Regions from separate parts of the Homo sapiens genome. Here regions 1 and 2 are each linked to region 3. Evidence: promoter capture Hi-C in 16 types of primary human blood cells and fetal thymus (Javierre and others, 2016). All regions are on one chromosome and are shown on one strand. Each heading gives the region's core, a stretch centred on a gene start or on the middle of the fragment in contact. The rest is flanking DNA. Distances are from core to core; before and after follow the strand shown.

Region 1 (2,756 bases), core at 158-2,657, about 18 Mb after region 3:
TCCTGCCTCAGTCTCCTGAGTAGCTGGGATTACAGGCGCATGCCACTGCACCCAGCTAAATTTTATATTTTTTGGTAGAGAAGGTATTTCGCCATGTTGGCCAGTGAGGTCTCAAACTCCTAACCTCAAGTGATTCACCCACCTTGGCCTCCCAAAGTGCTGGGTTTACAGTCATGAGCCACCGTGTCCGGCAGATCCACTTTTTATTTATTTATTTATTTATTTATTTATTTATTTATTTATTTATTTATTTATTTTGAGACGGAGTCTCACTCTGTTGCCCAGGCTAGACTGCAGTGGTGCGATCTCGGCTCACTGCAAGCTCTGCCTCCCGGGTTCACGCCGTTCTCCTGCCTCAGCCTCCCGAGTAGCTGGGACTACAGGTGCCCGCCACCACACCCGGCTAATTTTTTTGTATTTTTTGTAGAGACGGGGTTTCACCGTGTTAGCCAGGATGGTCTCGATCTCCTGACCTCGTGATCTGCCCGCCTGGGTCTCCCAAAAAGTGCTGGGATTACAGGCGTGAGCCACCGTGCCCGGCCAATTTCTGTATTTTTAGTAGAGATGGGGTTTCACCGTGTTAGCCAGGATGGTCTCGATCTCCTGAACTCATGATCCTCCCGCCTCGGCCTCCCAAAGTGCTGGGTTTACAGGCGTGAGCCACCGTGCCCGGCCAATTTCTGTATTTTTAGTAGAGATGGGGTTTCACCGTGTTAGCCAGGATGGTCTCGATCTCCTGACCTCATGATCTTCCCGCCTCGGCCTCCCAAAGTGCTGGGTTTACAGGCGTGAGCCACCGTGCCCGGCCCAGATCCACTTTTCAACACAGTAGCTCACTGACAAAAAATCCTCTCATCCTCTCTCCACAACCCTCCTAATTGCCTGCCCTGGTTTCAGTAGAGGGGAAATACTTTCTCTTCCTGAAAGCCATGCCTCTGTTGGGAGAGGAGAGAGGTTATGATTGAGTCAATCTGCAATGGCCAATGATCGAATCAGTCAGGGCTACATATGACGGTGTATGAAACTGCCACTAAAATTTCTCCACAACAGGGTTTTGGGAGCTTCTGGGTTGGTAATGCATTGAGGTGCTAGGAGGATGGTATACCCAGAGAGGGCATGGAAGCTCCACTTTTCCCGTTCCCATACTTTGCTCTATTTATTTCTTCCATTCAGCTGTTCCTAAGTTGTATCCTTTATAATAACCTGACGATAGTAAGTAATGCACTTTCCTGGGTCCTGTGAGTCATTCTAGCAAATTATCAAATCTGGGAGGATTGTGGGAACCCCTGAATTTATAGTTATGTCAGACAGAAGTGTGGGTAACCTGGGGACCCAATACTGGAGACTGGCCCAGGTCGTGTAAGTGAAGGCAGTCTTGTGGGACTGAATGCTTAAAGCTGTGAGTCTTATAGTAACTCTGGGTAGTTACTGTCAAAATGGAATTGAATGGTAGGATTCTCGGTTGGTGTCTGGAGAGTTGGAGAATAGGTTGGTGTCAGGAAGGGAAAAAAACAACTACCCTCATTTGGTGTTGAAGAGGTGTGAGAAAAAACCCAACAGTGGTATTGTAAAAGGGTGCAACCACTATGGAAAACTGTATGGCAGTTCTTCAAAAAATTAAAAATAGAACTACCATAAGATTCAACAGCCCCACCTCTGGGTATATATCCAAAAGAATTCAAAGTAGAAACTCAAACAGATATTTGTACACCCACATTCATGGCGGCATTATTCACAAGAGCCAAGAGGTGGAAACAACCCACGTGTCCATCAGTGGATGAATGGATAAATAAAATGTGGTCTATTCATATCATGCAATATTATTCAGCCTTACAGAGGAAGGAAATCCTGTCACATGACAAACAACATGGACTAACCTTGAAGACATTACACTAAGTGACATAAGCCAGTCACAGAAGGACAAATACTACATGATTTCACTTATATGAAGTATCTACAGTTGTCAGAGTCATAGATAAAGAAAGTTGAATGGTGGTTACCAGGAGCTGGAAGTAAGAGGCAAAAAGGAGTTATTTAATGAGTACACAGTTTCAGTTCTACAAGATCTGGAGATCTAGTTCACAACAATGAAAACATACTTAACACTTAAAACAGTTATGATAAATGTTATGAATTTCTCATACACTTAAAAATTGAAAAATTTCTCTGTCACTTAAAAAAACTGATTTTGTTTGGTTTTTGGCCTCTATAGATACCCCAAACTTGCATTAATTGAGGTCATCTAAGGTGATGTACATTTGAAGCAAATAGTTCTTTTTCCAAGTAAAGTAATTGAGGGGGCACCCTATAATATGACAGGTGTTGTAAGGGCTTCACTACAAGAAAACTCTTTTCTGGGGATTTTCTTAGGGGGAGATGGGAACTTCAGGCTCATATGGTACCTTGCCCAGAGTGCACAGCTTGTGGGCCTTGTGGAGCCAGCATGAGAACGCAGGACTATCTGACCCCAAAGCTAGAGTTCTTAGTCATTGCACCTTGGTACCTTTGCAGCCATGGCCACAGCTATTTGTTGAATTAATTGAACAGGAGTTGGGAGAATGCTTTTCTGCTTTTCTTTTCCAGTTATGTTAGTGGCCCCAGTCCTCTGATCACATTCTCAGTTTGTTGGTGCTAAATCCTGGTCTGGGGGCAGCCAACTAGCCTAGAGCAGAGTTGGATTCCAAAGAAGGGTTTGGCCCTCATTTTGAATACCTGTACAAGCAGAAACATACTGGGACAAGACGTTCCAAGGCATC
Region 2 (2,700 bases), core at 109-2,608, about 17 Mb after region 3:
AGATTCAGCTGCAACAATCACAACTTAAGCAAGATATATAAAATTGTTTCTCATGTACATAGTTGAGGTCTATTATGTCAGCGTCCCCATTATTCAGACTCTTTCCAGTTTTCTGACTGCATTCCCTAGGCTGTGTCTCATCCTTATGGTCCAAATTGACTGCTGGAGCTCCAGCCATCACATCTGACTTCTAGGCAGCAGGACAGAGGAAAAGGAGAAGAAAGGCCTATGTTCTTCCTAGAAGAACCATACTATATTTTTGCTTACATCTCTTTGGCTAGAATTTAAAATGGCCAGTCCAAATTGAAGAGAGGCTGGGAAATTTAGTCCTTTGGCAGCAAGCAGTGTTACTCAGAATAAATTTGGGGTTTGTTACTAAGTGGGAGAAGGCGCATTGGTATTGGGTTAGGTTAAGCAGCCAGCAGTCTATCAGAGAAAGCTGGATTTAGTAGCTGTGAAATAAACAGGTTATTGGGGTTTGCAGTTCACTTAGGCTCTCTTTGTAACCCTGGGCAGGTCATTTTACTTTCTTCAGCTTCAAAATTTTCATTAAAAAAAAAAAAAAAAAAAAGGCCAGTCTTGGTGGCTCATGCCTGTAATCCCAGCACTTTGGGAGGCTGAGGCGGGCAGATCACCTGAGGTCGGGAGTTCGAGACCAGCCTGACCAACATGGAGAAACCCCATCTCTACTAAAAATACAAAATTAGCTGGTGTGGTGGCGCATGCCTGTAATCCCAGCTACTCGGGAGGCTGAGGCAGGAGAATCGCTTGAATCCAGGAGGCAGAGGTTGCAGTGAGCCGAGATCGTGTCATTGCACTCTAGCCTGGACAACAAGAGTAAAACTCCGTCTTAAAAAAAAAAAAAGCCTGTGATTAATAGCTGTGGCTGTTAAACTGTGTTCAAATAAGTCCTGGGGTTTCTTGGAGGCACCTCAAGTTTAATGGGAATAACTGGAGCTGAAATAAGAGTCCAAGCAAGGGCTTCCATGTCCCCTTCCCACCCCTTCAACCAGACCAGCTCTCTTCTCTCTGCTTTTTTACGTTACCCCAGCTCTCAGTAGCTCTAAAGCTCCATGACAGGTGAGAAACATCAGGAGCAACTGTAGAAAGTTTCTGGGTTTCGAGAGAAGCAAGTTGGACAGGTTATGTAGGTTCAGGTTTCTGTGGTTCCGGAGGTAGAGGACCATGTTTCTGTAATTGTGAAAATCTAGGGAGGTATCAGGGAAAAGCTTGGTCATCTTTCTCTAATTCCGGAGGTACTGGAACATAATTTTCTTGTCTCTGGGGGCCTTAGAATATATTCCCTGAGGTCTGGAATGAAAAGAAAATGAATGCTGAAATACGATCCAGGTTTGGTTCCCTGTTCTGCCTTTTCCTGCTTGGTATGTAATTTCTCTGAGCCTTAGTGTACTCATCTTTACAATGGGAATAGTAATGCCTACGCAGGACTACTGGGAAAATGAAATATTATCAAGTATGTAAGCTTAGTAGGCTATGAGTCAACGTTCATTTGCTTTAATGTCACCTGTTCATCAGAGGGCCTTACACCCCCAGGTGGGGTGGGTACAGTAGAGAGGCCTGGGCTTAATGATTCAGCCAATTGGTTCCTGACGCTCAAGATGAAATTGATGGCATTGGGACTCTGGAGTATCACCCTGAGCAGGTGTGCGGGCTGATCCCGTCTCATGGGGGTGTGGTGTTGTGGTGTTCTTTTCAATCTAGAGTGTTTAAGAACCAACCAAATCCTGCATCTGGGCTTTGGTTGGGAAGGTATAGTCTCTCTTAAATCTTTCCTCTTTTCCTCTTTAATGTTTTGTTTTGTTTTGTTTTCTCATCATCAATTAAATACTTTGAAGTCTTTTCCATTTTGAAACAAAAGAAAACCCTTTCCCTCTAGGCAGATGACTCTTCCTGCCTATGTCTTTTTTTTTTTTTTTTTTTTTTTTTGAGACAATGTCTCGCTCTGTCATCAGGGTGGAGGGCAGTGGCGTGATCTCAGCTCACTGCAACTTCCGCCTCCTGGGTTCAAGCAATTCTCCTGCCTCAGCCTCCCGAGTAGCTGGGACTACAGGCACATGCCACCACGCCCAGCTAATTTTTGTATTTTTAGTAGAGATGGAGTTTCACCATGTTGGCCAGGATGGTGTCGCTCTCTTGACCTCATGATCTGCCAGCCTCGGCCTCCCAAAGCGCGGGATTACAGGCGTGAGCCACCGCGCTCGGCCCTGATTTTTGTATTTTTAGTAGAGATGGGGTTTCACCACGTTTCCCAGGCTGGTCTCAAACTCCTGAGCTCAGGCAGTCTGCCCACCTCAGCTTCCCAAAGTGCTGAGATTACAGGCATGAGCCACCGCGCCTGGCCGGATGTATGTCTTTCCATTTTCTCTCTAAATTCTTGGTCTAATCCCTATTTCTGAATCACCTGTGGGCTGCCCAAGCTCTGTAATTTACATCAGCCTCAGATGTAAACATGCCCCCTTGTCTTCACACCCGAGGACACCACTCACCTACCCCATGCCACTGGGTGAGAGAGTCTGTTATTAAAGTCTCTGGAAAATTCCAAAGAATTATAGAAGAGAAAGCAAAGGAAACAAGACACCACCCGCATGCTTCTGAGGCCGTGGCCAGCTAGCCCCAGGGAGCCTCATACCAGCAGCTCCTCTTCCTGGCCACCATCTCCTGCTCAAGCCGCCTTGCTTC
Region 3 (2,700 bases), core at 201-2,700:
TTACCCAGGTTCCCTTCTAACCTCAGAAACCACCAAACACAGCCCCACAGCACAATCTTAATAACAGCAGTTCCTCCTTGGCCTGCCAGCACCCACTCTGCGTTATGTGCCTACCTGGTGGTTGTGATATACAGAATATACTGATAGACAAGAAAAACTAGGTGAAGCATTTTAAAGAACATTTCAGAAATGATGGGAAGGGGTGGGAAGGGAGGGGCGGGAACAAGACCACACAGTGTTCAACGACTTAGCGGTTCCAGTGAACCAACTGATGCCCGTCTTCAGGGACAGACAGCTAGAAATTCTAGACTAGAACAGAGGCGTCATGGTTTGCCTACCCTTATCCTAAACAATTACCATGCGAACAACTTAATGTCGATCACAACAGATGTAAGTCCGGAGTCTCTCCACAGTTTCCAGGAGGCTGGTGGCAAATAATTGCCCTCGTCTTGGATTCAAACACGTGGCTATTCATGAGACGTTCTGCCTCTACTTTAGAGATTATCGACATCAGCAAATGCGTGCCGTTCACCTTCTACAACCGAAAACGCCCTTCAGGTGGCATTCGAAAAGCAGCCACTCCCTGATGCCATGCGGGAGCGAGCATGGAAAGCGCATTTCTGAAAGGAAACACCCAGAAAGGGTAAGTTCACCTTGGGTGGCACAAAGCGTGCCAGGGTTCACCGGCCTCCTGCATGGAAGGGAGCCACGGCCAGCGCGCCCGGGTCCCGAAGCGCAGTGGACAGGCAAGGCCCCCACGGGCGCGGCCTCGAGTTCCAGCCAGGGAGGCCCCGAGTCCAGTCCTAAGCCCCAGCCAGAGTCCTGGCCCCAAGTCTCGGCTCCGAGTCCAACCCCGAGTCCCGGCCGGAGCGGCCCCGAGATCCGGCGAGGAAGCCCCGAGTCCCCGCCAGGGAGGCCCCGAATCCAGCCCCAAGTCTCGGCCCCGAGTCCAGCCCCGAGTCCAGCCCCGAGTCCCAGCCCCGAGCCCCGGCCGCGCAGGCCCCGAGCCGAGGGCGCCCCGCCAGCCCGGCCCTCACCTTCCTGCTCGCGCCGCCAAGGGACACCTTGGGCCGCGTCTTGAAGTCGCCTTCGAAGCTGAACATCCTGGCAGCCTAGCCCATGTGCGGGCAGCGCCGCCGCGGAAGCAGCCGGGCGGGCGGGGCACGGGGCGGGCTGGGAGGCTCTCGGCGCCCGCCCGCCCGGCCCGGGGCAGCGAGGACGCGGCGGCCGGGAGGCGACCCGAGCCCGCCCCCGGGCTGTACCCTCCCAGCCCTGCCCTGGGGCGGGAGGGGCGGCAATACTGGAGGGGCGGCCCTGCCTCGCCTGCCCCTCATCCACGCCGGCCACAGCTCGGGCCGCTGCAGGGGCGCCCAGCGGGCAGCAAACCCGGCGCTTGCACCTGGAACTGCCGCCTCGGGAGGGAAGATGGCGGTCAGCCGTCAGTGCGTGCGCGGCCCTGCAGACGTGCGCGGCCCTGCAGACGTGCGCGGCCCTGCAGACGTGCGCGGCCCTGCAGACGTGCGCGGCCCTGCAGACGTGCGCGGCCCTGCAGACGTGCGCGGCCCTGCAGACGTGCGCGCCTCCGCCATTGACGGCACGGCGCTCTTCCCGGCGGTTCCGCTAGCGTGCGCGGCCCCGCAAGGCGCGCTGGAGCCTGGGGAGGACGGCGGTGACGCGGGCTGGGCACGCGGCGGAGTGGGCGGGGCCTGGTGCGTGCTGGGGGAGCGCGGCGAGGGGCGCGGGAGGTGTTGGGTGCGGGGCAGGGTGCGGGAAAGGTGGAGTGCGAGGCACGGGCCGGGATGGGGTGCAGGGCAGGGTGCGGGGTGCAGGGTGGGGTGCAGGGGCCGGCACCCGGAGCGGGCTGGGAGCGGCCAATCTGGTGCCAGACTCGAGTGAGGCGGGAAAGGAGCAGCTAGGCCCAGCCCGTCTGTTTACATCCCACCTGTTCTATGTCTATGACACGCACAGACGGACGTAAATATTTACCATGTACACAGACATGCGCAGATTTGCCTCATACATAGCACACATATGCATCTATAGATACAGCATCAATACATATAAATATGTATCATGTACACATACCTGTGTATGCAAAAATATTTGCTCCTGGACTTACCATGGGGCTTTGTCCTGATAAACCCATCGTAAGATGAAAATATTGTAAGTTGAAAATGTATTTAATGCTACAATAAACCCATCACAAAGTCAAAAAATTGTAAGTTGAGCCATTTTAAGTTGGGGACCACCTATACATAAACATGTGTCTTATATCCACACATACGTATACATAATATCTCATATACATGTGCATATACATATATATCATACACGATTGAAACCAATTTCTAAAAATTGATTTTTGGTTGTATACAAGGTGTGCAACATGATGATTTCATAGAGACATTGTGAAATGACTACCCTCTTTGTGTGTGTGTGGTAAGAGTACATAAAATCTACTCTCTTAGCAAAATTTCAACACACAATACGATATCATCTACAGTCGTCCTGCGGCCGAGCACGGTCGCTCACGCCGGTAATCCCAGCACTCTGGGAGGCCAAGGCGGGCGGATCACCTGAAGTGAAAAGTTCGAGACCAGCCTGGCCAACATGGTGAAACCCCATCTCTAATAAAATACAAAACTTAGGCCGGTGTGGTGGTGCACGCCTGTAGTCCAAGCTACTCTGGAGGCTAAGGCA

The links. Contacts are between HindIII fragments. The CHiCAGO score rates a contact against its expected background, and 5 or more counts as called.
Region 1: a contact is called between a fragment that was not itself captured here and the fragment with the promoter of UBE3C in region 3, in 1 of 17 cell types (neutrophils). The highest score is 5.2, in neutrophils.
Region 2: a contact is called between a fragment that was not itself captured here and the fragment with the promoter of UBE3C in region 3, in 1 of 17 cell types (naive CD8 T cells). The highest score is 5.8, in naive CD8 T cells.

Annotation. Positions count from the first base shown.
Region 1 is chr7:139,329,686-139,332,441 of GRCh38, reverse strand. It overlaps a transcript of UBN2 not described here. Among named protein-coding and RNA genes, the nearest start is that of TRR-CCT4-1, 9.6 kb to the left of the region's middle. The HindIII fragment of the contact is 3,297 bases long and covers 1-2,756 here.
Region 2 is chr7:140,218,757-140,221,456 of GRCh38, reverse strand. No RefSeq gene overlaps it. Among named protein-coding and RNA genes, the nearest start is that of KDM7A-DT, 43 kb to the right of the region's middle. The HindIII fragment of the contact is 254 bases long and covers 1,232-1,485 here.
Region 3 is chr7:157,137,676-157,140,375 of GRCh38, reverse strand. UBE3C (ubiquitin protein ligase E3C) reads right to left here and starts at 1,450. Exons shown (of 23, transcript NM_014671.3): 1 at 1,038-1,450. The coding sequence starts at 1,103. RefSeq lists silencers at 819-888, 939-1,328, 1,609-1,958. The HindIII fragment of the contact is 7,086 bases long and covers 1-2,700 here.